Linked DNA regions of Homo sapiens: regions 1, 3, 4 and 5 are each linked to region 2. Evidence: promoter capture Hi-C in 16 types of primary human blood cells and fetal thymus (Javierre and others, 2016). All regions are on one chromosome and are shown on one strand. Each heading gives the region's core, a stretch centred on a gene start or on the middle of the fragment in contact. The rest is flanking DNA. Distances are from core to core; before and after follow the strand shown. Region 1 overlaps LOC124901937 (a long non-coding RNA gene). Region 2 holds the start of PLPP5 (phospholipid phosphatase 5). Region 3 overlaps ERLIN2 (ER lipid raft associated 2). Region 4 overlaps TACC1 (transforming acidic coiled-coil containing protein 1). Region 5 holds the start of ADAM9 (ADAM metallopeptidase domain 9).

Region 1 (5,488 bases), core at 557-3,056, 630 kb after region 2:
TTTTCTATGGTTTATAATAATCAGCTTGTATTGGGAATCACTGATGTAAAAGTCAACCCACTTCACTGACTACCATAGGCATCTCTTGGAATAAACTGGCTAGAGTTTATTCTTGCTAATAACTTTGACTATATTCACCCACAAGTATTTACTAAGAGTAGCCCCTGTGTGGCCTCAGTACTGAAGTAGTGAATTATTTAACTAGTCTATAGTGAATTATTTAACTAGTCTAAGCAAAAATAAAGTCAAACAGTGCTAAAACATGGTCATAGATCCAAAGTTAAGTACCTATTCATTCTCTCACTCTGAACTGGGAAGTCCCAGTTCTTCCCTCTAATTGCAGGGCATCACTGAGGATGCAGAATTCCGAGTGGTGCACTACACTTATTCAAACTGATGGGAAAACAATGCCATCAGCATGAATCAATAGGAATGGTGCTCTTGGCCAGGAGACTGTTATTTCTGGGGACGGCACGCACACTCATTTCTGAGGCTGAGAAATGACACTATTAGTGTTAGACTTAGCAGTACAACAATGCTTTCCAAACTTTTTTACTAGGAAATAACTTTAGCACCAGTAAGTATGTATGTATATGTGTGTATGTATATATATTTATATGTATATCTCCTGTTTATATTTTACAAGTCTGATTTTATAAACTTCCAGATGTTCCACCAGAGTTTTCTCTTTTTTGATTTTACCTTATTACTGTCCTTTACTGCTGTTCCTCTTACTCTATAAACAGAAATTTCCTAAGCTTCTTCCACTCCCCATTTTCCTACTCTCAAGGCTCTGAGAATTTGAGCTAAGAGACAACCTTAAGTATTGGGCAAAGGTCACTGAACTACCATTCAGAACCCAGGGATTCAGATCATGACTGGCTGTGTGATTCTGAGATGCTATTGCTCTCTTAAAACCTAAATTCTTCCATCTGTAAAATGAGATGAAAAATCTCTAATTCCCTGAGAGTGGGGGAAAAAGAATAGTTAATAATTTATCATGAAGTGTTAGCTCTTTGGGATAAAAGTTTCAAATGAAATACGAGGATTTAAATCCAAAGGTATGACACTGATTTTTCAAATTTAGCATTGTCAGCACTTAACCATGTTTCCTAAAAGCATGAATTCACTCAATCCCAAATGCCATGGTATGAGACAGTTATCTGTCATCACCACCTTCCCCATTTTATAGAAGCACAGAGAAGTCACTGGTCCCTGGCTATTCAGCTAATTAGTGACAGAGTCAGGAGTCAAAACTAGGTAGCTGGGTGCCAGAGTCTAGTTACTAGGCAGCCAGTAACTACGAAATCACAGCCAGTTAACTTCCAACTGTGTCCCTTCCTTGCTCAAAAGCCTTCAGTGGCTCTTGAAGCCTAATAATAAGTACAGACTCCTTAGCTTAGCAATAAAGACACTCCAGCTACCTTTCTTTCCTGTTTCATTCCCCATGAAAATCCTTCCTATGTCCTCCCGTGCTCCAGCTCAACTGTACCAGCCACACTTCCCTGAATAGATCCCATGTGGTCCTGCTCTGTGCTTTGCCTCTGATCATCTCTGTATCTGGAATCCACCTATTCTCACCTCCTCTTCACTTTTCTACATTTTAACCTTTCTTTCAAGGTCCTTGCAAGGGGCCATGTCCTTCATGCATTTTCCCCTGCCCTTCTCAACCACAGCTGGTTGATAATCTTCCCGGGGAATTTTATCTCTGCTCTCCTCTGCATGTATCAGTTTCTGTACATACTATGTTCCCTCCTTAGTAAGAGATGAGCTCCTCGAAGGCTGCAATATTATTTTCTTCCTCATGGAACTTTTAAATTTTATTAAAAATTTAAGCCATTCCTGTTCTTTTTTTAAAAAAAAAACCAAATGCATGCATGCTTGTTGCAAAAAAAGAACCCTCACAGAATACATCTCTTAGAAAGTGAAATCCACCATTATCACCCCTCTACCCCTGCCCTAAGAGAACTGTGGTTAACAGTTTGGAATGTATTCTTATAGAGCTTTTTCATGCAAAAAATTATTTACAGAAATGGAATTATACTACATGTAAAGCTCTGTACTTTTTTCACTTAAAATGTATAGTATTTTTCATATAGATATCTACCTCATTCTTTTTTTTTTTTTTTTTTTTTTTGAGACAGCGTCTGGTTCTGTTGCCCAGGCTGGAGTGTAGTGATGGAATCATAGTTCACTGCAACCTTGAACTCCTGGGCTCAAGTGATCCTCTTGCCTCAGCCTCCTGAGTAGCTGGGGCTACAGGTGTGCACCACCATGTCCAGCTAATTTTTAAAAATCGTTCCCAGAGACAGATCTCGCCATGTTGACCATGTTAGTCTGGAACTCCTGGGCTCAAGTGATTCTCCTGCTTTGACCTTTCAAACTGCTGGAATTATAGGCATGAGCCACCCCACCCAGCCCTCATTCTTTTCTAAGTGCAGCATAGCATAAGATTGTAGTGATGCACCTGTTCAATCCCTTCTTGATGCGCATGAAAGTGATTTCCAATTTTTACCATTATGACCAATGCTGCAGTGAATATAAATACATATGTGTGTGCATGTATTGCTATCTATATATCCATATAACTTTCTTTGGATAGGCAATTGCTAGGTGAAATGGAATGGAGATTCTAAATGATGATAAATATAGGAAGTGTCAGCGGTGGGAAGGAAGAGTCTTGTTTTATGCTTTTCTGCATCCTTCACAAGGCCTAACATTGCATCTACCAGTGTAGCTTGGTAGGTAAAAGACCAGGCTCTGGCCTCTGGCTGTCCAGGTTTGTATCAGGGCTTTATCTGTATGCCTTAGCCATCTCATCACCATAAAATAATGGCAGGGTCATTGTCATTATAAAGCTTAAATGAGATAATACATGCATAACAATTAGCAATTAGTAAGTACCTGGAAAACAAGTAAATGCAAGACATACAGAAGGAAAAATGGTAATGGGTTCAGATAATTGTTTGTTGAATGAATTGGACTGAATAAAACAATGGCAGTTTGAGCAATCATTCTAGAAATGGATGGTACAGAACTATTCATACTTTGCTATCAAAACCCATAGCAACTATTTATAAAATGACTGGCTAACATTAGAGGTGCAGTGTATAGCCCTGGAGCAATCCATCTCTGTGCAAAATGAACTGGCCTGAGCCAGAATCAAACCAATGACCTTGGCCTCTTTGGCCCCACACTTTCCCTAATAGAACTAACTGGCCCCAGCTGCAGCCTTATGTAATGGGTATCTATGAGGACAGAACAATAGTTCCCTGCAGGGTACACTGGCTCACCACTGGAGGTTGTTAGGTTATCTAGCTAACCAGCCATTAACATTGAAAATGAATAGAAAGTACATAAATAAATGCTTAGAGTAGTGCATAAGGTTTTCTGTTGAGATTCTTAGGTTCTAGGCCAGAAGTTTTCATCTTGGTGGCAAGGTTTCTATACCAATACTAGAAGATTCTAAGGTAGTCAACTCTGGGTTCTAGAACCAACTCTGCCACTAACTATTATAGCTTCAAAACCTTGAGCAAATTGTTGAGCTTTATTTTACCTTGGTACAACAAGGGGGCTGAAATAGCTCACATGAAACGTCCTTTTTTGACATTCCTTTCCCCACAGGTACAGTCACATTCTCAGACATCAGGGCTGTTTATTGCACTGAACAAAATTAAAGTATAAAATTAGGCAACAGCAATACTGTACTTTCAAAATGTGTCAATGAAGTGATGGCAAAAGTAAACATAAGAAGCTAGACACAGCCAGGTGCGGTGGCTCACGCCTGTAATCCCAGCACTTTGGGAGGCGGAGGCGGATGGATCACTTGAGGTCAGGAGTTCGATACCAGCCTGGCCAACGTGGTGAGACTCTGTCTCTACTAAAAATACAAAAATTAGCCGGGTGTGGTGGCGCAGGCCTGTAATCCTAGCTACTCGGGAGGCTGAGGCAGGAGAATCGCTTGAACCTGGGAGGCGGAGGTTGCAGTGAGCCAAGATCATGCTGCTGCACTCTAGCTTGGGCAATAGAGTGAGACTCTGTCTCAAAAAAAAAAAAAAAAAAAAAAGCAGCAACAGCAGCTAGACACAGAAGGCCACATATATATGATTCCACTTATATGAAGTATCAAAAATAGGCAAATCTGTAGACTGGATGGAAAGCAAGTTAGTGGTGACCAGGGGCTGGGAGAAGAGAAGAATGGGAGGTGACTGCTTAATAGGTATGGCGTCAACTTTAGAAGCCATGAAAATCGGTTGGAACTAGACAGTGGTGAGAGTTGTACAACATTGTGAATTTACCGAATGCCACTACATATACACTTTAAAATGGTAAAATTTATGTCATGTATACTTTATCACAATAAAAAAGTGTCCCCCCAAAAAGAGAGAAAGGGATGGCAAAACATAGCAGGGCACAGACTCACTTGACGCCTGCTTCAAGGTGACATGAGAGGAGGGTGGGGGTGGGGGTCCCTCTGAGGAAGCCCTGGGAGATCCAGGAATAAGAGAGTGGACATTAGTGCAGGATTTGTCATCTAACTGGGGCCAGGTCCTGGCCAGGGACAAGTGTAGCAGTAAATGGGGCTCCAGTGAAGTATGAGCATCTCCCCGAGTGCACTGATGATGACCTTCCCTCAGCCCAACATGTTCCTGGCCTCCTCCCACTGGTGTCAAACTGTATCCATCTAAGTCCCATTTCAAAGCCCACTCCCTTCTTGAGCTCCCCCACCGTCCCCCCCCACCCCCCATCCCCCATTCAGAGACACATTTCCCTCTTTTTTATTTATTTTTTTTCTGAGACAGGTTCTCACTCTGTCACTCAGGTTGGAATGCAGTGGCATGATAATGGCTCACTGCAGCCTCAAAATCCTGGGTTCAAGTGACCCTCCCATTTCAACCTTTAGAGTAGCTGGGACCACAGGTGCATACCTGGCTAATTTAATATTTTTTATTTTTTGTAGAGATGAAGTTTCCCTAGTTGTCCAGGCTGGTCTTGAACTCCTGGACTCAAGGGATCCTCCTGCCTTGGTTTTCCAAAGTGCTGGGATTACAGGTCGTGAGCCACTGCCCCTGGCTATATCTTGTCCTTCTAAAAGTTGACAGCACTTACTCTCTGTGCCATTCCCAGGGCACAAGCCTGCTTCAGCCTTCTAGAGACACCTGTATTCTCTTGCCACCCAAGGCCTTCTGCTTCTCTTTGCCTCCCAGCATCCAAAACAGTAGTGCTCAGGAAATACTTGTGGCTCTGTGATGGAGTGACTCAGGCAGCCCCACGGGGAGTAGAGTTTTATGAGTTTAATATGAACCATACCCTGAAATCTGAGAAATTTACCTCATTGCTCATGCTGGAAACCCTCAGTTCCAGTCGGATTTGCTTGGAGCTGGATGGAATTGTGTTGCTTTTCATACTGAAAATGATCATCTAATTTTTAAATTTAAAAAACATTTACGTAGCACCTACTTCACGTTCGACAGGAATCTCAACACTT
Region 2 (5,152 bases), core at 2,520-5,019:
AGCTGATTTTGTATTTTTAGTAGAGATAGCGTTTCACTGTTGGTCAGGCTGGTCTTCAACTCCTGACCTCAGGTGATCCACCTACCTCACCTTCCCAAAGTGCTGTGATTACAGGCATGAGCCACTGCACCTGGCCTCAATTTTTGTATTTTTAGTAGAGACGGGGTTTCAATATGTTGGCCAGGCTGGTCTCGAATTCCTGACTACAGGTGATCCGCCTGCCTCAGCCTCCCAAAGTGCTGAGGTGTGAGCCACCGCGCCAAGCCAGGTGTTCTGTAATTTGGATATTTTACTTACTATAGCATTCAGCTTAAATTTGTTTGGTTTAATTATAATTTTATGTTTTCTTGAATTTTACTTATGTTTTTGAACAAAAGTCCTATGACAATGAACCTGATTTTTAAGAGAGTAAATTGAACTTTGAGGTTTTAAATTTCCTGTAGATGCAGTTTAACTTGAACTTACAATGCTTCAAATAATGGAAAAATTAGGATGTTTATCTTTGGTAAACTCTTTTTGTCTTATCTTTCCTATAATTTTAAATGTACTTAGTACAGAACCCAGACCATCCATACTCATTAATTTGTTCATTCAGCAGATATTTAGTAAGCATCTCCTCTGTGCTAGGTGCTAGGAATAAAATGAGTGAAATATGCAAGCTTCCATAGCCTGAGTACTTTGCTTACCTTGCCAGTGATGCTTGTAGTCACATGTGCGGGACAGTGCAATCACAGCTGCAAAAAGTAGAGGTGACAGAAAGGCACAGAACCTCCAAGATTTCCCACGGCCTTGTGGTGTGAAGCAGTGTAACTTCCCTGCCAGGTAGAAGGACGCAAAGGCCAGACCAGCAAATGCAACTGGAACAAGAAAAACTTTTAAGTGGTTTGTCTTTTAAAGGAAGCTACCTCATTCATCCCCACATAGGAGGCTAGGAAGCATGAGTATGTTTTTATTTATTTATTTTTTGAGACAGTCTTGCTCTGTCGCCCAGGCTGGAGTGCAGTGGCACCATCTCGGCTCACTGCAACCTCCACCACCCGGGTTCAAGCGATTCTCCTGCCTTAGCCTCCCGAGTAGCTGGGACTCCATGTGTGTGCCACCATGCCCAGCTAATTTTTTTATTTTTAGTAGAGTTGGGATTTCACCATGTTGGCTAGCCTGGTCTTGAACTCCTGGCCTCAAGTGACCTGCATGCCTTGGCCTCCCAATTGCTGGGATTACAGGTATGAGCCACCACACCCGGCCATGAGGGTGTTTTAATCCTTTTTTGTGTATACTTATAGTGTAAGTCATTGTGAAGGAAAGGGAAACAAAAAGAAAAATGAAGGACTTAGTGCCCCAAAGTTAATGTTTTATCTGAGTATAGTTTTCGGTATACTAGCTATATGTATCAACTTGTTGATGCTTTAGTTTCCTCATCTATAAATGGGACTCATAAATACAATAGTCCCCACCTCATTGGATTATTGTGAGCTATAATTAGGTAAGAAATGAAAATGCTTCAAAGTACCTGACACATAGAAACTCTTCGTTAAAGGTATTTTTATTGCTAGTACAAGATTGCAGGATCTAGGCAAATAATATAACAATTAAATGTGCAAATCTCATGAAGGTAAACTACCTTTCTGTTCTGTAATATTTACCCAAATAGTCAAGGCTCAGACTTGTTAAACTGTGGAGTTACTAAAGAAGGGGGGATTTTCCAAATTGTAGAAACAAGAGTAGTCAGATTTTCCCATCCCTACTAGCTTTCTAGGTTAAATTCAATGATGTGAAAACAAGCATAGGGTAGAGTCCATATGATATTCATACAGGAAGAATGTCCACTGGGGAAGCTCTTTCGGCCCTCATTCACCACGTCCTTATCCCCTGTACACATCAAGTCAGAATGGGCTAGCCCATCAGGGAAGCAGCGGTAGAAGAAATCTGGGCGTGGCCTGGAAGAAAGCAGCATGGTTGGAACGTAAATCATTAACTCCAGAAATTATTTTTCAGTTGTAGCAGACATTAATAATCCTGTTAACTATTGGTCAAATAGTGCCCCAGGCAAAATAAGGTAACTGGCTTAGTATAGTCACCACACTAAGAGAAAAGCCTTTCAAGGTGAGCATTTAAATTAGGGGAAAAACGCCCATTCCAGCACATGATTACTTTTTAGGGCAAACAGCAAATGACACTGCAGCTTCAGGAGGTGCTCAAGAGGACACTGACCGACTGCTGTGGCCGTTGGTGGGAAATGCTGTTCAGGCAGAAAAGAGCCCAGGTGTCACCTGGAGGACTGAGGTATGGGGAAGGGAGTAAGCGTTGAATGACAAAAGAAAAATCAGAGTGAAGATAAAGGAGAAAAGAATGAGAAAGACGTGTGGTGGACACCATTAACCTCTCTGTTCTGGTGGGTAAGGGCTGAGGCAGATGCTGGGGTGGTTAGCTGTTGTCACTTACCTCCCTACGATCAGTTTTATTGTGTTGGTAAAGACGCCATTCAGAGCCAGGGCAAGGCTGGCAGCTGCAAAGCAAAGCCATTAGTTGAAAGGATCTGTCTAGGAGGAAAGGTATGGTCATGGCCTCGTTATGAGAGCAGCCGTGCTGTTTCTGAGATGGATAGAATCCAACCAGGCCTGGGCACAAAAATAATTAGGGTCCTCAGTGATCACTCTTTTGTAGCCGAGAACTTTTGTACTAGGCCAAAGACATTTCTGAGGTACAAATAACCCAGTGCATTTAGGCACAGGGCTGCCTGCCGTGTAGCCTGCGTAACCAAGTCCCTGCAGTGCTATTTTCCTCTCCCGCGGGGATAGAGTTCCTTTAGGAATGCAGAACTCAGTGGCCTCCACACAGGCTCACCGTGGCTGAATCCCACAACGACCTCCTAGGTTCCCAGCACGAAGAAACCGGCCCGAAAGGGCTAGCGCTCACCCAGGCAGGCTTGTCTGCTGTCTCTTGTGTCTGCCTTCTTGAGAAATTTGGCCAGGAAGATCAGAGACAGTGGAGAGAGAAATGCAATAACCTGAATCAGAATGTCAGAGGTTAAAAACAATCCAAAAAAAAGCCACACTCGTGCTCCTACAGGAAAGAGGGATGTGACACAGCAGGACTCACTGGAGCTAACATAAGGTCTCTGAGTGCGCGTAACCGGGCGCCAGGCAGCGCCACCAGTGAACAGCAGCGCCCGTGCGGCTCGGGCCCCGGTACCTCAGGCTGAGGCACAGAGCGCCCGGGAAAACGTTGTCTCAGCCCAAAGAGGCTCGGACACCCTCCTCTCTCAATCAGGATCTTAAACACTCGAGCCCTAGGAGGCGGAACCCAGCGCACAGCAGCGGAGTGGGCAGTGGGTCCCTACAAAGGCCGTCTCGGGGTGGAAAACGCACAGGTGCCCGCGGGAAGCCGGGTCATGGGGAGGGAGGAAAGACGATCTTTCTCCACGCACAAACATCGGCTTGGTGGGGAAATACTCCGCCTCCACGTAGGGGTTCCGGTAGAGCCACATCTCCTCCGGCTGGATGAGTCTCTGGAACGGGGGGAGCAGCTCCGTCACCCTAGAGGGGAACAAAGAAGCGCAGAGCAGGTCGCCTGGCTTCCTCCCCGCTTCCCCACTGCCCGACCCGCCGCCCCGTGCCGCCCGCCTGCCTGGGAAGCGGGGCCGCCCGGGCCCGGCCGTGGATCTTTCTTACAGGAAGGCCGCGAACAGCGCGAGCCGCACGCCCACTTCGGCCCCAAAGGCCACCGCCGCCGCCGCCTTCCCCATCCGGCCGCGAGCTCCGAGCGACGCTGCGCTGACGTGGCCACCTCCGCGGGGAGGGCCGGGCCGGGAACTGGGCACCGCCCCCTCTCCCAGTTGCCCGCGCTCCGGCGGCTCCCCAGGAAGACGGCCTGGCGGCTGTGCCGAGGGCATCGTCTGGCAAAGGGTACGCAAAGCCAGCGGAGCTGCCCTCTGGTGCGTTCAGCAGGGAGCCAGCGCCCCAGTTCCAGCCGAGTAGGTCGGCGTACGGTCCATCATCAGCAGCTCGTCTCCACGGCCCAACCACACCACCGCGGGGAGCAGCCTTCTCCCGGGACCTCGCCTCTAAATGGAAAACCAAACAGCCCGCTCTCAGATCCTCGTTCCTTAGCAACACAGCCGCATTCTGCAGGAAGCTACACTACCTGAGGTTGGCTGGATTGTGTCATTTAGTCCTCCCACCCAGGATGGCCTCCTGCCCAGAGTGTTGTAGCAAAAAATTATTGGCAAAGAACAAGCCCACATATTTAATTTGGAACATACAGGACAATTTATTGAAGTCAATCTCAAGCAAAATCTGAAATCAGTGGAATGTCATTAAAAACCTTTCCAAATTAATCCTCACGGAAGCAAAAAACACATTGGAATTCCAAAGTATTTGTAAAATAAAAAAGGCAACATCTCAGTAAATATAATGTACAAAAATTATATGTTCCTACCAGCACACACATCAGTAAAGAAGCTTAAATATTACAGGCAACCCTAAATACACTATAACTAGTCAACAATAAGCTATCTATATACAGGTTAACCAAGCTTTACACGTTTCACACTATGCAATAAAACATAGGCCAATCAACAAAATCCTCAAAATATTATATATCTTGAAGTCTATGTGGCAACATCAAGTCATTATACAGTAATGCCCTAGTGGAACACCCCCAGGGAAAATTAACACTAATCCCTTAGTGTCAAGAGCTTCTAGCCAAGTCACAGAAACTCAAAAGAGATTGACTTTAGTGAATATTGATGCTTTGTTATTAAAGACTCAAGTCTCAAGTGATTTAGGCAAAGTAATGGTTCACAGGATCTACAAAGTTTATTACAGATAAAGTACAGAAATAACCAATCTACAAAGATCATTATCATAAAGAACACGAGAAAATGAAAACGGAGTCTGTAGGTATCTGTGTTTGTTGTGCAATATCACTCAAATGGGTACAAATGAGTTTCTCATATCAATTCCAAATATACACATACCCTTGTATATAAAAAATGATATTAGCCAGTTGTAATACTCATTTAGCATCTTGATTATTAGTGGCAATATAATTATCTTAACATAGGGCATGTAACAGGACAAATGAGATAAAATAATGACAACCAAGTAAGTTTTATCCAGTCCATTTCTAAACTGACAAGAATACCTTATTC
Region 3 (5,545 bases), core at 2,935-5,434, 520 kb before region 2:
CTTTTGGATTACAGCCCACCCTTATGACCTGTTTAACCTTAATTACCTTCTTAAAGGTCTAATCTCCAAATACAGTCACATTGGGGGTTAGGGCTTCAACATATGAATCTGGGGGCGAGGCATACACAGGTCAGTCCATAACACAAACTGTTGGGGAAATCTGAATAAGGACTGGGTATTAGGTGATATTACAGAATTATTGCTAATTTTCTTAGGCTTGGGAATGATACCATGAGTGTGTAGGAGAATGATTATTCTTAAGACAGTGCTCACCAAAGTAAAGGAGTAAAGTATCCTAACTGCAGCTTACTTTGAAATGTTCAGAAAAAAAAAAGGTCAATAAATAAGGTAAAATGTTATCAGTGTTGAATTCAGGTATCTGGATATGGATGTTAGTTATACTACTCTTTCGGCTTCTCTATGTTTGAAATCTTTTTATAATAAATATTTGAGGGCAAAGGGAGTGTGACACCAAAGTAATAGTGAAGACAGTTTAAGAAACATTGATCATAACATTCCACAGTAACCTTCTAAGTTCTGAAAACTTCACCTTGACCCTCCTTAGTCTTTTCCGTGCAACTGATTAATCAAAAGGCATTGCTGATTCCAAAGATATGAGTTACTCTTTCGTACTGGTCCCCAAAAGTCTCATTCATGTCTTTGTAGAGATGTTCCTAGGCAGTGTGATTTCTCAGGAGAGTATGTTGTTGCCATGAGCCCTGCAGAACCTCCCACTTGGAGATCCAAGCTGCCTTCCAACTTCCCGTGAACTCTTCTACTCCTTTTCTGCCAAGCCCCACATCTTACGCCATCACCCTGGGGGACTGCACCATATTCTAAGGCTTCCCAGTGACTTCTTGTCCATTCTCCCTCCAATAGTGGTGGTGTGATGATCTACTTTGACAGAATTGAAGTGGTGAACTTCCTGGTCCCGAACGCAGGTACGTCTTAACAGTTTATTCCCACCACCAGCTCACTTTCCCCAGCATGCCACTCCCGTGTCTGTTGTAGCACCTTGGAAAAGGAGAGCTGCCGTGTCTGAGGGCATTTTGAGTCTTGCCTTTTCTTATGCCAAGCCCTCTCCTTCCCTCTCAGTGTATGATATAGTGAAGAACTATACTGCTGACTATGACAAGGCCCTCATCTTCAACAAGATCCACCACGAACTGAACCAGTTCTGCAGTGTGCACACGCTTCAAGAGGTCTACATTGAGCTGTTTGGTAAGAAAGTCTCTCCTGAGCATGCCGTGCTTAAGCAGGGTTCCTGGAACCCCGCGTCTCTCCACTGCCTAAAGCCTGGCTGCCTGCAGGGTGTGATGGTCACTTATGGACAGGAAATGTTAAAGAATCTTGTGCTCAGGAGCTGGTCACAAAGGAGTTCATGGAGAATGCTGATAGCTATGCAACAAGATCCTTAGAGGGCTGGAGCTTTGGGCACAGGGACCATAGTGGAGTAGAGTATTCACTTCTGGCCTCAATCAGAGGCTGGAGTGGAAATGTGTTCCCACTGTTCCTAAACTATCATTCTATAATGAAGACAAGGTCCATTCTAGAAGAACCTTAGAGATTGTCCAGACCAGCATCCTCATTTTAAGCTGAGGGTACTGTGACCCAAAGCAAGAAAGTCACAGAGCCAGATGCCAATTAGTAGTGGGGCTGAAACAGGAGCCTTCCTCTCCTGGCTCTTCAGCATTCTTCTCACCATGCAACACTGAATGGAGGGCCCCCAGGAATGGGTGATGAAAAAGACATGATTCATAGTTAATTCTAGAAGTGAGATGAGAACCATAGCTCCTTCCAGTTCTCAGAACCTTTGTGATTATTATTTTTTTACTCTGTACCTGTAGCAACGAATAGAAAAACACTTTAAACAAAAAGATTCCACGTGCCTAAGTAGATATGTTTTGTCCTTTTTACCTTTTTCAAAGTAAAGGCAACCTGACTTAGCAGCAAAGGAAGGACACAGTTGGGTAACTGTTATAACTTGTTTGCAGTCAAGTATTCTGTTTAAACTCACTGCCAGAAATTCTCTAATAGCCAATGCCAAAAGTAAATGAATTTTTAACCAATAGTATAACTGTTCTTGACACTAGGACTGGAAAATGATTTTTCCCAGGAATCTTCATAAAAGGGACCCTGAGCAAGAACATTTTTCATAGCAGACAGGAGGACTCATCCACATCGCCAGCAATCATAATTAAGCAAACCGCCTTTTGCACCATTTAAGATTTAGGAAATCATCCAAATTACTTTTAATGTTTCTGCAGTAGAAAATGAATCTAAATTCATTTTATAGGGTTTGTAGTCTTTTATCTGTTTTGGATTCACTGTGCTTTTAAGAAAAAGTTGGTAAATTTGCCGTTGATTTTTCTTTTTAACCTCAAACTAATAGAATTTTATAAAATATTAATTTTCTCTAGCCATTGTCTTAGGACTTGTGACATTACATGAACATTTCAAAGCACTGAAAAAAGACAAAGGATCCCTAATGTCCCTGAAGAGGAAATTAAAATACAAAGTTGTTTTTCATTAGCAAACTTCTTACTTTCTTACAGCTAAACTTGGTAGCTTAGTGAAGTACAGCTGCTTGTATGGAGGAGCTGGGGAAATATATTTGCTTTGAAACTTTTTTATTTTTACATCTCAGTCTTGCTAGCAAGCACTACTTGGCTTAGAATCTGTCATATCCATAAAGGAGGAGCTCATGTCTCTAGTCCTGGCCCTTCAACTCAGAAGGTTCTTCTATACTTTCCTTCTCTCAGGACTCTTATAGCCCAGACTTTAAACATGAAGCTGCATAATTTTCATCACTTCTTACTCTGCCGCATCCTCTTTGCCCATGTTATTAAAGTATTATCTAATACTTTGAAGTTTACCTGAAGAACCTCTTTGTGTGTACTTAGTAATACAACTTTTTTTCCTGTCCCAACACCTTTTAATACAGTTGAATGGATAAAAACATGGATACAAACACATGGATATAGTTATCACTGAAGCAGTGTGACATAAAATAATACCTATGTATACAACACTCCTCTGTAAATAGCAAATGTAAAGTAAAAGATACACAACAGATCATTTTGTTTATCTCACTATCATTTATTAATCTATAATGTATCCCTCCTATGTATCCATGCAAGGAAGCAATACTAGCTGCCCGACTAGAGGGCAGCTCCCTTGGGTTACTTATTCAGACCCCATTTTCATTCGGATCTGAGCTGTCTTACCCGCTCACTGCAACTTGGCTTTTCCTTCTTTGAGTATAAAGTCTGACATGGGATGGCTCACCTATAGCTTCAGTGTGTTAAGTAAAGAAAGCTTTATGCAGATTCTGGTTTTTAGTGGGTCTCCTCTGACAGTAGAAAGATTCAAACCACAACCAATTCCAAGAACCCTTCTAAGAACAGAGACAGAGTCACTTCAAAGGATCTGACTTGCTATACCTAAATATAATTCACGCTGCTTTTCTCTATGACGTACCATAATATTTTGTCCAAAAATCTTGAAACATGTTATTAACTTTGAAGAAAGAATAAAACCAGCCACTTTAGAGACCAGAGACACTCAAGCACTTATCTATTCATAAAGTTTCTACACAGCTGAAGAAGTTTGCATCAAATGGACAAAAAATAGTAAAGAAAATCTAAATACAGAAAAAAAATTAGAGAAAAATCCATCTCCTAGAAAGCAGGTCAAATGGACTCAGTTAAAGACCTCACTGCATGTAGGAGAATCAATGGGAAACAACATAAAGCCTTCTGCTGGGATATAAATAGGAACCAGTCTATGTAATCAAGAAGTTACTTTGTCTCCTGATCTAAATGCTTGCCTCCAGTCTAGGGCTCAGAAAAAAAGCCTGGTTATTTGAACTGGTTGTCAATCAAGGTCCCCTTCATTTTCACTTTCTTGGCTTCCCATTCAGCCAGCTCTTGCAGTGGCCTCTTGCTCATGCCTTTGCGCTCCAGCTGTTTTTCAATCACTTTGGCATTCTGTGCATACGAGTCAGCAACTTCCCTAGCCTCAATCTCCTCTTCCTCTTCATCAATGGTAGACACAGTGACAGAACTGAACTTGCCCATGTCTTTGGTCCGTTTGGTCATCATCACCTTCTTAGGAGGCTCTTGTTTCTGAGTATATATGTTCGTTTTCCCAAAGCCCTGGCCAAACTTGACGACTGCTCCATCCACAATGAAGGTAACGGGAGCATTCTTCGGCTGGGATTGGTAGAAGAGCAGCAGTCCACACTTTGCACATTTCTTTCTGTACTGTAGTTCAATGCCTTCAGGTCTCCGCAGATACATAGTCTCTTCGTCTTCTGTGTTACAAAACTTATGGGCATGTTTGGCAGCATCAATCACACGGGACCGGTCCCGGGGCCTCATGGGCAATTTCTCTAACTGACAGTCCAGCACTAGGACCACCTGGCCGCACAAACAGTAGTACACATGGAGGGGCTTCTCGCCGTCGTCATATTCCTCCCGGTCCCGAGTGTCAGAGCAGACTACTGACCGAGACACTACTTTCGGCATGGTTTCCAGGAGCAACCTGAAAAACTCTACGCAAAGAAGAGGGTCGCGCCGAAATGACGTCACGAGCGCGCCTTGCGCCTTTTCCCTGCGGCTACCTTAGTAATACAATTTAAATGGCATTTATCAACATTTCCATAACATATAAACATCAATATTACTAAAACAACTTGAAAAGTATTTCTTTCACATTTTTCCGGTAAGCTACTAGCCCAGGGCCACAGGTTTCCACCTTGACAGATATAATTTGGTCTGAGGAATGACGTTATTAACTTATGGAGGATACGGGCCATTTAAAGTTTGGTTGGTATTCTACTTAAAATTACTTAAAATATGAAATGTAATATTTAGTTCTAGTTGTTAAATTGGTTGACCCCTGGCAGGTGTGAGGTGCCGACTTGATGGCATTTCTCCTTCGGTGCTCAGAGGCTTGTGAGAGCACATCCTATATGTGGAAACGTTACCGTCCCTTGTTTACTGATACTACTGTCTTAAAATCCTAACAATCAAGGCCCACCAGTTAAACAAGCTTGTTATTTTTGCTACTAGCCAGCTTTCATGGGCCTCCGTTTTGGCATCAGTGAAAGAGCGGAGACTTTCTCTTCCTCAGAGGCTCTTATTTGAGCACAGGTGACCACGAAAGGACCACTTAAAGCAGATGGCGGCTGACAGCAAAGGAGAGATGCAGTGTACAAGTCCCAGCCTGATTTCACTCTGTCTTTTTCTCTAAGCCCCTCCGGGATCTTATCAAGGATATCATGGGCAGAAGGCAAGGAAGAGGATTCTAAAACCTGAGAAGCCCATGCCAGAGAAGTCAGCTTTGGTACTGCTGTTCTGAGATTGCAGCTGGAAAGGAAGGTGGGGGGAGAGTCAGTTACAGCTGTTCCTACATTTGTCTGTGAAACAACTCATGTGGATTCCAGACAAAGAAATCAGGACCAAAGCAAACAGCACATCAAAAGCCTGGGGCTCGCTTCCAGAACTGTAAATTTTAATTTTCCCTTTGTGTTGTTTGATGG
Region 4 (5,400 bases), core at 863-3,362, 530 kb after region 2:
GCTCCAGGGCTCAAGTAAGTGATCCTCCCACCTCAGCCTCCCAAAATGCTGGGATTTCAGGTTTGAACCACCACTGTCATCCCCATAAATAAAGTTATTGGAATACAGCCATACTCATTCATTCATGTATTGTCTATGGCTGCTTTTGCTCTACAATAGCTGGGTTGAGTACTTGGAACAGAGACCAAATGTCTGGCAAAAGTCTAACATATTTACTATCTTGTACAGAAAAAAAATGTCAACCTACATCTATACTTATTACAATTTCAGTAAAAATACAGAGTTTAAGTAATTTGGGAAAATGGCTTTAAGAATGAAAAGGTGCAAGGTTATACCTGCTGAACAAATGAACTGTGGGCGTGAGGTGCCATTAGTCTAGGCCTGCATGTTCAGGGAAGGCCCAGGGGAGAGCCTGATGTGGCCTGGCTATTTGTCATATTTGCAAAGGGGAAGTGATGTAATTGGTCTGCAATGAACTTGATTTTCAATTGACTCAAAGATCTAAGGAGGAATAAAAATTATTTAAAAAGGAAATTAGGGAAGAATGGGGAGAATATTGGAATCATTTAATAGAAGTACAAACACATAGACTTTTAACTTTTGCCCATTAAATTTTTTTTAACATTTTATTTTCTTAAATTTTTTTTAAAAAAATAGTGATGGGGTTTCACTGTGTTGCCCAGGCTGGTCTCGAACTCCTGGGCTCAAGTGATCCTCCCACCTTGGCCTCCCAAAGTGTTGGGGTTACAGGCATGAGCCAGCCTCACCCAACCCATTAAATGTCTTTAATGTAACTTCGGGTGTATGAGAATTTGTAAGTTGACTGTGCAGATCTCTTAAAAGGTTGATATGGTGTATTTTTAGAATGTTTTAGACTGCACGTGTGTGTGTGTTTGTTTGTGTGTGTGTGTGTGTGCGTGCTATAGAAAACACAGCATGGAAACCTTGTTAAAATCAGAGGCTTTGATTTTTTATTCTAAAGCTTTGAGTTATATGTTTAATCAGATACTATGTGAAAAATTTTCATTAGGTACATATTGAAGTGTTCCATTCAAGTCTACAAGTATATCCTCCTAAGGATTTAGTTTAACATCCTTTCCCTGCTCCAACAAGGGAATGCTTTATTAGAGTTTCCTAGAAATAATGGGACTAATTAGGACCTTTCATATTACCTAGTCCAGCAGTCCAACCCATGTGGCTCCTTCAACAGCATCGCAGCCTAATGCTTTTAATTTAATTTTAAATTTTTAATGTTTTGCTGTGATTGCCTCTTCCACAGTTTGATTTTTTTGTACTGTATAATTCCATGTTAAGGTATTTAAAGCTTGAAAATCTTAGCATGATATAGCTACTTTGTTTTTTCATGTATTTTTAGCTCTGAAGTTGGAGATTCCAACCAGCTAATAAATGAGATCAGAGTCATGTGTTTTTTTGTTGTTGTTGCTCTATCACAATGTAAATGTGCCCCTAGGAAGCACCTGCTTCTATATGGTGCCTTACCCAAGGGAGTGTCTTCCTGGGGAAAAAAGTGTAGTTTTTCCAGCAGAAACTTGTGAGAGTGCAGAACCACAGAGGAGCAACAGTGTCTGAATAAAAAATTCCAGGGCAGGGAAGCAAAGTCTACCTGCAGAAAGGAAAGATTTTAGTAACTATCAAATCACAATTTTTCTTTTAAGATGAGTGACAAAATCAAGACCTTGCACTCCCCCATTTTGGGCTTACCCAAGCATCGAATAAAGCAGTAGAACTTACTTTGGTACTTGCGGGTGGCAGAGACACTTTCTACCTGTGTATGTGTTTTGGGAGCCGGCAGTCCTTCTAAAATTATATTGCTGCCATGTAATGTCCCACCTACAAAATGGATGTGGCCTAAAGCCATTTAAACATTTAAATGAAAGAGCAGTTGCAGTGTCTTTTTCAGGTTACCAGTTATACTGCCCAGAGGAAATCTTGGAGGGTATAAACCATTTTGTCACACTCTCCTAAATCCAGAGTAGCGATGGGAGATAATGGTTTATCCACCCAAAACAACCCTCTCAGTGGAGATTTCATAACCAAGGTTGCTAAATTGCCTGGTGACTATTAAATCTGGGCTTAGAAAGGCTTTGCTACTTGTGAGTTCAAGATCTCACCCTCACCTTTGCATGTACATGACCTAATTTTATGAGTTCAAACAAACATGATTAGATCCCCAGGGTTTAGATTGATGATGGCCAGACTCACAAGGGAATAATAATAATGGCATGGAGTATTTTATTAATTCACAAATGAAAAATGTATCTTGACAGTTTGGCAGATGCAGATACTCTCCTAGCCAGTCGAGGACCCTCTTTCTTATATCATAGCTGGAAATATGACAATAAATGATTGATCTCCAGCTTTCCCATTACAATATTCCCACCTAGCAGATCACCAGCTATCTGTTTCAGCCGTATTTATTTATTAGATGTGTTGGGAACAAGTAATCTTTGTTTGCAGCATCTTGTTTGATTTTTATGACCATGATTCTGCGAGATAGGACACAAGTGATTTCCATTTCACAGATTGGGAAATTGAGGCCAGAGCCTTTACTGCTAGTAGTGGACCTGGGTTTTGAATTCAGCTTTTAAGATTGCAGATCCAGAGCTCTTTGGAACATATTATACAGCTTTTCTCTCCAGGAAATTTGTGAATCCCTCTCTGTTGTTCACTATCTGAAGAGAAGACATATCAGAGGAAATAAAGGGTCTTAAAATGTTGCCAGAGCAGGGTGTGTGATGGGGGAAAGCATCGTCTTAAGTATCCTGTCATGTGATAGTAGTTTAAAAAATCAAAAAATACATCTTCCACATGTGTGAACTTGGCACATATTATTCTGAAGTATGAAATGTATTTTAGGAAGTTGAAACATCAGAAGTTTGGAAGCTTGCAGCATGATTTAGATATAAATTAATAGTCAAGCAAAAATCATCACTGGATAAGTGCAGTGGGATTGAAAACATTTTGCTTCCTCAATGCCTAGCTTCAGCTCATCAGTGAAAAATAAAGAAGGAGTAGACAAATTCAGTACTAGCCTTTGCATTCTGTCTCCACCTGAGTCATGCATGGTTGAGAAGAGGCAGGTGTGTGGAGGTGTGTGCGGCTGCCAGGGGCTCTGCGCCTGTTTTATGGTAGATAGAGGAGTTTTTAAGAGGCCTTTGTTGGTGATCTCTGGCTGCATAACAAATTACTCCAAAACTGAAAACAACGAACATCTCACATAGTCTTTGTAGTTGGGAAATTTGGGAGCTGGGTGGTGTGGCTCAGGTCACTTTTGAGAATGCTGTCAAGATGTCGGCTGGGACTGCAGTTGTTTAAAGACTTGACTGAGGCTCAAGAATCCTCTCCTAAGGCGGCTTACTCATTTGCCTGGGCTGTGAGTGCTGGCTGTTGGTGGGAGGCTGCAGTCCTCACCATGTGGACCACTGCTGGGTTGCTTGAGTATCCTCACAGCATGGCAGCTGGCTGCCCCAGAGTGAGTGATCCAAGAGCAAGCAAGATAGAAACTGCAGAGTCTTCTGTGACTTAGCCTCAAAAGTCACACTTATTTCCACAGTATCCTTTTGGTTACACAGGTCAGTCCAAGGGCATGTGTACCAGGAGGTGAGACATATAGGGGCCGTCTTGGAGGCTGGCTACCACAAAGCCCTTTTCCACTTTTTAAAAAACTTGCATGAAAGGATATACAAGGGTATACATTCTTAGATGGCAAAGCTTTTCCCATTGCTTTCTTCCTTTGGCGTCTCTTCACTATGCCCTTCCTAACCCCACTCCTTCTTGCTGCCCTCTTTCTTAAACAGGAGCAGAACTGGCTGAAGAAATTATATAGCCGCCTATTGGCTTGTGGTCCTGCCATGGATGTGTCTCATGCACCCAGCATGCTGGCTGAGATTGCTCTGTCTGGAGGCCCCTCTCTTGCTGAACATTCCTCCCTCTTCTTCTTTATCCAGCATCAGCTTCTCAGCTCCATGTGGGTGGTTGCTACTTTGTGAGAGAGGCAGTTGGTATTTTGAATTTTCCAGTAATTATTTCTGAAGAGATGCACATTATGGTTGTTTGGCAGCAACAGATTGAAGTTACACAATCCCAGATCTCTGCACAGGAGCCCCATCTGTTAGCACGTGCTCTTTCCCCCCTTGCTCTTCCTGCCAGAATAGGTTGGGGATGGGGGAGAAGTTTTGTGGGGAGGGCCTTCTATGATTTCTGTCTGTGGAAGGGGATTTCTACTCTGTCTAAAATATAACCTCAAACAAATCCAGATGGTTCCAGAACCCATGGGCATCTCATGAGTGAGAAGAGAAGACACATTCATTGCTGGATTGGCTTCTCTGGAGGAGGCTTTGGCTTCCTGGTGGGTGGACACTTCCTGATAAGCAAGTCCCATCCTCTTACCTTATAATCTTGGCCTTTAGAGATACGGTTTGGGTCTCTTTTTATTTTTCTTCCTTTTTTTTTTTTAGAGACAGGGTCTTGCTGTGTTGCCCAGGCTGGAGTGTGGTGGTACAATCATAGCTCACTGCAGCCTCAACTCCCAGTCTTAAGGGATCCTCCTGACTCAGCCTTCCGAGTAGCTGGGACTACAGGCGTGTACCACTACACCTGGCTTGGGTGTCTTTTTAAATAAAATAGCATAAAGTGCTGTTTTGGAAATTTGAAGTGCTTTCTTCATCCTTAGTACAAACTTTTTTCAGTTTACCAAGTGGTTTTCCAGATTATTCTTTACCTGTAGAGTCTTAGGTTTTAGGGGGAGCCTCTCTCAGGAGTTAGAGGCTTATCTCAGGAGAACAGCAGTGTAGCTGGTGCCCTGTCTCTTAAAAAAGCAATGAAATTTGCCCTACCGTGACTTCTGGGTAATGTTTTTGTTTGGGGGTTTTTTGGAGGTTAGGAAGGGGTTTAAACAGGTAGTTTGTTGTCTGGGTTCTGCGTGTGTGTGTGTGTGTGTGTGTGTGTGTGTGTGTATGTGTATTTTTCTGCTTTGGTTGGTGAGACAGCTTAAAACTATGATGTACCTAAGAGGATGGTCTGCCTTGACTCACCCACTCAGAATCCCGCTGACCCACCCCTCTCCCATGCTTCCGGGGATCCTGGGCCCCAGCAGTTGTTGGGGAAATGTGAGCTATGCAGCCCATACCCTTAGATTGTATCCCGCATTCCTGGAAAAGGGCCTATTGTACGGTTGTTCCAACCCTGGACAATAAATTGTGTACTTCTCCATTTTAAGGCTGATGACTAAGTGAGAACGAACATATATAAAATACACTTCAACTTTGGAGGAATCAGAGAGACTGGGAACCCAAAGACATGAAACTGGGGGAAAAAAACACTCAAATTTTGGACTTTTAGCATTAATGCTAATATACATCTGATTAACAGTCTCCTCAG
Region 5 (5,970 bases), core at 3,080-5,579, 730 kb after region 2:
TTTGCTCTTACGACAAAACAAAAACTCACCTTGAGACAACCATAACCAAGTTCCTGGGATGCAGTTGCATTTCCAACATGATCCACTGGGTCTTCACATTCTATAAATTCATCAGGTCTGTAATTCACCAGTAAGATCATGATCATCATCATACGGTCTTTGCAAATCGCTGTTTGCATGCACGTAATCAAAACGGGCAAAAGACATTTCTTCATCAAGTTTTCTGGGGTTCGGTTTCACCCTGCTGACCCCTTTCCAAGCCAATTAAACTGAAGCACAGCAGGTCAAACGGACAGCCACCAAAATGAACCTTTTGTTGGAGAAGGGAGGTGTTTCTGGTCCTGTTTCTATAAGGATTCTACTTCTGCCATGGTTTCATCTCTTCAGTAGGCAAACAACAAGATTCTGGGGGCAAAATTTAAGCCAAAGTATTCTCAGTCCTCTTTGCATTTCCCAAATGCCTTTTCTTGTTTGATCAAAAAGAGATGTTAAAAAATGGCGTGATTCTGCAACGGTAAGAATATTGATTGCTTTTTTAAAAGATGCCTTGTAGGCAGAGACAAGTCATTTACTCCATTTATGCCTTACTCAGTACTGGCACCGAATCGACCGACTAATACTCTCCTTGGGCTAAAGGGCGCAGGGCAAAGAAAGCACAACCTTACGCCCTTCTTCCAGAGGCTATATGATGTTACTCCTACCCAGTTTTCCTCTTTGGGGATCTCAAAGCCTCTGTCACTGACACACAAGAGTTTTCTCTGCACGGGCTGTGAGAAACCTGGTTCATGATATTTGCCTCCGGAACGACCTCAGAGAGGCAGGGTCTGAAAAAATGCAGCGTCCCCCCAACCCTGCCTTCCCTTAACACCCATATATTCCTGGCACACCCTCCACGTCCACCCGCCTCGACCACTGGTAGCTTACAGGTAAGAGCAGAGGATGACCGGAGAGTGGGGGTCGCCATATTCCCAGCTCGCAGCACCCCCGGGGCCCTCCGGCTGGGCGGCGCCAGCGGATGTGAGCTCAGGCTCAGCGGTCGCATTTTGCGAGTGGCTCCGAGACACACAATGCAGCAGAAGTAAATTCCCCAGCAGCAAAGCCGCCTGGCCGCACAGAAGTAAGTAACTAACCGGGCAACCACCTAGCACCATCTTCCCGGGCACAGGAGCGGAGACCCGGCCTCAACCACAACCCCAGGCCAGCAGCACAGACCCAAGAACTGCGTGGTCAGGCCTTTCCGCGTAGCCCCGCCCGCGTAGCCCCGCCAAACAGCCAATGGACGCGCAGCTCGACGCTCCGCGCACCTCCGCCAACCAACTAGAAAAGGTCGAGCAGACGGGCGGGGCTACTCCGCCCTCTGCTTCTGCTTCTCGATTCCTCTTCTGGGTCTCATGCTCCTCCTTCTTTTGCGCCGAATGCGTTCTCCAATCGGATCCGTCGACCCCCCTAGGTGGGCGTGCCCGGCAGCCGACGGGGCGGGGCGGATATGACTGGCGGGCCGACTAGTGCTGGTTGCCACCGCCGGTTTAGAAATCCTATTCTCGCGCCGGGGACTGGATTTTTCCCTACGTCAGCGCAGCTAGGCGATGTCGGGAGCGAGCTCGGACCGAGGGCTCAGTTGCGTCAGTGCCGCGCGCGTGCTCGTCGGGCGCGCGTGCTCGTCGGGCGCGCGCGCTTCCCGGCCAGACTTGGGGCCCCGGCAGGGTTGGAAAATGATGGAAGAGGCGGAGGTGGAGGCGACCGAGTGCTGAGAGGAACCTGCGGAATCGGCCGAGATGGGGTCTGGCGCGCGCTTTCCCTCGGGGACCCTTCGTGTCCGGTGGTTGCTGTTGCTTGGCCTGGTGGGCCCAGTCCTCGGTGCGGCGCGGCCAGGTGGGTGTCCGCGCCCCGGGTCGGTTGGGACGGCTGCTTCCTAGGGACGGGGCGCTCGGAGTGAACCTGTGGTGCCTGGGAGTGGAGGGGCCCGGCCTGGGGATCGGACCCGGGGTCGGGGGGCGCGGCCGCTCCAGGTGTGTGCGGACCGGGGTCGCACCCGAGGCGCGGGGTTTGGCGCCCCAAGCCCTTCTTGGCCCGGGTCCTCTGCCCGGCACCGCTTCCTCCGTGTCCTGTTCGATGGAGCCGTTCCCAGCGTCCCCCCATCCCTCGCCGCCTCGCGCGACCCCGGGTCCCCCAGACGCCCCGAAACCCGCTCTGGGGCGGGCGCTGACCTCGGCGGGCCGGAGCCCTGCAGGCTGGGCGCGCCCGCGGGCGTTCAGTCCTCCAAACGCCTGCAGGGAGGGAGCTGGCTCTCGCTCGTGGAGTTAATGTCGCTTGGAAAGAGACTGAGAGATGAAACTTTTGCTGCAGGTTATAATTTGAAATTTTGACGTTCATGGTATCCTTGGGTCAACACAGCTAAATTTAATGGTGGAATAAAGGTGGGTGGGAGGACGCTCATTTCTCTTGGGTCATTTTTGTAGTAAGAATATTTTGTAAACGATGTGCTACCTTTCTATAGCCAAACCATTCTTAAAAAATCTGTGTTTTTATTGGGTTCGTACTGTGTTAAATCCGGACAGATAATCCCTGCTCTTTTGAACTCACAGGATTATTGTAGGAATTAAATCATTTGTGTGAAATCGTTTTTGAATTGTGAAACTGCCCTTGACTATGTAAGATACTTGTATTGGAGATGCCCAAACATAGTGGAAGCAGATTGTCAGCACGCTGGCGTCTTTCTGGAAACAAGTTGTTTATTTTGGATTTTGTATGATATAATTGTTTGCATGGCTGTATTTTCTCTATCAGCGACAGAGGATGATGGAGAATGGGAGTTTTTACTAAATCATTGATTGAAAGTTATTCAAAGGTGATGATAGAAGATTTCAACGCAGGACTGTTGACCTTCAGGAAACTAATTACTTGTTTTTCTTATCTTTGGCTGCTTTATTTGAAATTAAGTAAATTTGCCCCAGTGTGGAAATGTTGAAACTCTGACAATGTTTTGAATGGGAAGTTGCCAAATTTCTTCTGGTTAAAACTACTTTTCCGGTGGTATTCTAGATGGTTAACACTCACCGATGTTTAAGGTGAAGACGATTATACATCCGGAGTTTTATTAATCTGTGATTTTTTTTTGTGTTTGTAAATGTAAATAAGACTGTATTTTTAAATGTTAATATAAATTGTCAGTCATTACCGACCTGCATTAGGTGAGTGGAATATCCTGATGGTCTTTAACTGTGGTTTTGGCCAGCTCCTCACTTCGGCATGTGTATGCCCCTTCAAAGTTTAGCCACCGTTTATGGAACTCCTATAAACACCACACAGTTGATTGTAGAGGGGCAGAAGGTGACCAAATATGCTAAGCGCATCTGAGAGATGTTGGGGAAGATTTTTAGAGAAAATAATATTTGAACTGGGCTACATCGGTGATTTTTCAAGTAGAATAGTAGATACATTCTAAGCAGAGGAAAGTTTTTGCAAGAGTATGGTGGGGCGGGGGGCGTATGAAAGAACATGACTTTTTAGGAAATGATAAAAATGTCAATATGTCTTCATGCAGACTATAAAAGGGAGGGATGGAAGATCAAACTAAGGTAGGTTGTTACCAGTTGGGAAGAGTCTTCTATGCTGAACTAAGGGGTTTGGACTTCACCCCGTAGGAAGTTCTTTGGGCAGTGGAGGTTTTAAGTAGGGGTGCGACCTAATCTCATTTTCTGTTAAGAAAACGGGCAACACGGTGGAGGATAGAATCTAGGAGGGAGAGACTAGAGGCTGGGACACCGGTTAAGAGGCTTTTGTAATAGTGTGCAGTGAGTCAACTCTTGTTTCTCTCGGGGAACGTTCATACAAAATCAGCTGACCACATTTTTGCAGTATAAGGTGTTTAAAACGTGCACTGAAACATTTTCCAGGATCGAAAGAGGAATTTGAGGTACCAGGCACACGTCAGTTACATTAGGAGTTAATTAGGTTTTATAGGATTTTTACTACCTTTTATAACATTGTCTCAATGAGGAAATGCAGTATAATTTCCAAACAGCTAACTTTCAGTAAACTTTTTTTTTTTTTTTAAACTGACAAAGGTAACTGTGTCATTGTAAAAAATAAGCGGAATCAGGTATGAAACCTCTTCTGATTTTCTAAGGTAGTAATTATGAGGAACAGATTTAGAATTTTTTTTTAAACAAAGACTGGCATTCTAAAGAAAATGACTTTGAAAGCTTACTCATGGTGAGTCACTGTAAAATCATTTGTGTAGTAAGAACTTAGGTCCATACTAATCTCGTTTTCAGATGCCAGCAAAATATTTGAATTTGATATGTTTGTGTTTGTGCCGATAGGAGAATGTAGCCTTTTACATTTAAGAATGATTTGGTTTTCAACCTTTTAAGTAAAAAAGAAAGCATATATAATTAAAATATGTACAAACCTAGTTCCTGGTTTCCAAGACAGTTTTCAAAAAGCACTTGAAGCTTTAACTTACCAAATTTATATTTGCTCTTTGTAAAAAATCTGGGTTTATAATAGAATTTATTATGGAATCCCCCAAAAGATGCAAGCTCTAAGTAACTGGAAGCTTTTTCTTGGGAATATCCGCAAGCTCAAACATATGACATAGCCTCATATTTCTTTTTCCTTTTTGGTATGTAACATATACTGGAGGCTTGGAGTCATGCCATCCTTTTGAGTCAGCGCTATGGAACTGCCTCATAAATGAATGCAGTCCTTTTGTATCTCAGTAGCTAATCCCTCACAGTCTTTTTTTTTTTGAGATGGAGTCTTGCTGTGTCGCCCAGGCTGGAGTGCAGTGGCACGATCTCGGCCCACTGCAACCTTCACCTCCCGAGTTCAAGCAATTCTCCTGCCTCAGCCTTATGCCTGGCTAGTTTTTTGTATTTTTAGTAGAGATGGAGTTTCACGGTATTAGCCAGGATGGTCTCGACCTCCTGACCTCGTGATCCGCCCACCTCAGCCTCCCAAAGCGCTGAGACTACAGGCATGAGCCACCGCGCCCCAGCCTCTCTCACAGTCTTTGAATGGGTCTAATGTGGACCCAACTAAAGTTGGGTAGCACAATGTTGTTTGTATATTGAGAGATTATTGTAGTTTATTTTCCATTTCATGTTGTTATTTTAATCAGATTATTTTCCCTAAGTGATCATATGTGGGACACTGCTTGAGTCACATCTTTTTTTTTTCTTTCTGAGAGACAGGGTCTTGCTCTGTTGCCCAGGCTGGAGTGCAGTGGAACAGTCATAGATCACTGTAACCTCGAATTCCTGGGCTGAAGCAATCCTCCTGCCTAAGCCTCCTGAGTAGCTGGGACTGCAGGGGTGTGTCACCATGCTTGGCTAATTAAAAACTTTTTTTGTGTGTGGAGAGGCAATCTTGCTCTGTTGCCCAGGCTGGTCTCGAACTCCTGGGCTCAAGTGTTCCTCCTGCATCAGCCTCCCAAAGTGCTGGGATTACAGGTGTGAACCACCACACCTGGCCTTAAATCACATCTTTTAAGAGTGAGCTAGGGAACCTTAGAAATTAACTTGGTCCGTTTTAAAATATGCAGTTCTGTTTGTATTTATTTATGTTTATGGTAATGTAAGTATTGTGTTACTAAACCTTACTGGAAGAAAAGAAAATGATATCACCCCCAGACATGTTATAATGTAGGGCAGAACTCAAAGGGAATGGGACGTTCCCTTTGATGAATTGTTCTTTTAATGAGATTTTTCATGATTTAAGTCATTTTAGGATGATTTTAACGTCTTCCTTCTAGTAGTGTAGAATCTTCATATGAGTAGACCCCAGGAGAGCCTGATTCTAATCAGTCTTATTGAAAGGCTGAGAATCCTGTTGTGAAGATATCTTGGGCCTAACCTCCCATCCCAGCCACTTAAGAGAAGTGATTAAGCAGTCTGTGGATAGCAATACAATGAAATACGATTTTGCTATCAAAATGACAAATGTGTAGGCTATGTAGATTTGTAG

The links. The method cuts DNA at HindIII sites, captures the fragments that hold promoters and counts their contacts. A CHiCAGO score of 5 or more calls a contact.
Region 1: a fragment that was not itself captured here is called in contact with the fragment with the promoter of PLPP5 in region 2 in 1 of 17 cell types (total B cells); the score reaches 6.6 in total B cells.
Region 3: a contact is called between a fragment that was not itself captured here and the fragment with the promoter of PLPP5 in region 2, in 3 of 17 cell types (total CD8 T cells, activated CD4 T cells and naive CD8 T cells). The highest score is 6.1, in total CD8 T cells.
Region 4: a contact is called between a fragment that was not itself captured here and the fragment with the promoter of PLPP5 in region 2, in 1 of 17 cell types (total CD8 T cells). The highest score is 6.9, in total CD8 T cells.
Region 5: a fragment that was not itself captured here is called in contact with the fragment with the promoter of PLPP5 in region 2 in 2 of 17 cell types (total CD8 T cells and monocytes); the score reaches 5.9 in total CD8 T cells.

What each region holds. Positions count from the first base shown.
Region 1 is chr8:38,893,971-38,899,458 of GRCh38, forward strand. LOC124901937 (a long non-coding RNA gene) reads right to left here. Exons shown (of 2, transcript XR_007060893.1): 2 at 5,280-5,488. Among named protein-coding and RNA genes, the nearest start is that of PLEKHA2, 4.6 kb to the right of the region's middle. The HindIII fragment of the contact is 2,100 bases long and covers 757-2,856 here.
Region 2 is chr8:38,265,455-38,270,606 of GRCh38, forward strand. It overlaps PLPP5 (phospholipid phosphatase 5), which reads right to left and starts at 3,770. Exons shown (of 7, transcript NM_001102559.2): 1 at 3,672-3,770; 2 at 3,428-3,536; 3 at 2,917-3,007; 4 at 2,443-2,506; 5 at 1,813-1,937; 6 at 687-857. The coding sequence starts at 3,745. It overlaps NSD3 (nuclear receptor binding SET domain protein 3), which reads right to left. Exons shown (of 24, transcript NM_023034.2): 24 at 4,250-5,152. It also overlaps a transcript of DDHD2 not described here. RefSeq lists a silencer at 3,489-3,968. The HindIII fragment of the contact is 3,801 bases long and covers 658-4,458 here.
Region 3 is chr8:37,743,476-37,749,020 of GRCh38, forward strand. It overlaps ERLIN2 (ER lipid raft associated 2), which reads left to right. Exons shown (of 12, transcript NM_007175.8): 5 at 880-941; 6 at 1,096-1,221. It also overlaps the pseudogene LOC728024. Among named protein-coding and RNA genes, the nearest start is that of ERLIN2, 9.6 kb to the left of the region's middle. The HindIII fragment of the contact is 1,737 bases long and covers 3,317-5,053 here.
Region 4 is chr8:38,793,665-38,799,064 of GRCh38, forward strand. All of the region lies in intron 2 of TACC1 (transforming acidic coiled-coil containing protein 1), which reads left to right. Among named protein-coding and RNA genes, the nearest start is that of TACC1, 9.1 kb to the left of the region's middle. RefSeq lists enhancers at 307-601, 3,192-3,730, 3,850-3,989, 4,060-4,219. The HindIII fragment of the contact is 1,580 bases long and covers 1,323-2,902 here.
Region 5 is chr8:38,995,289-39,001,258 of GRCh38, forward strand. ADAM9 (ADAM metallopeptidase domain 9) reads left to right here and starts at 1,685. Exons shown (of 22, transcript NM_003816.3): 1 at 1,685-1,872. The coding sequence starts at 1,776. It overlaps TM2D2 (TM2 domain containing 2), which reads right to left and starts at 1,221. Exons shown (of 4, transcript NM_078473.3): 1 at 925-1,221; 2 at 30-117. The coding sequence starts at 1,151. RefSeq lists enhancers at 349-871, 872-1,393, 1,002-1,191, 1,352-1,451, 1,512-1,561 and 1 more and a silencer at 1,892-2,321. The HindIII fragment of the contact is 252 bases long and covers 4,204-4,455 here.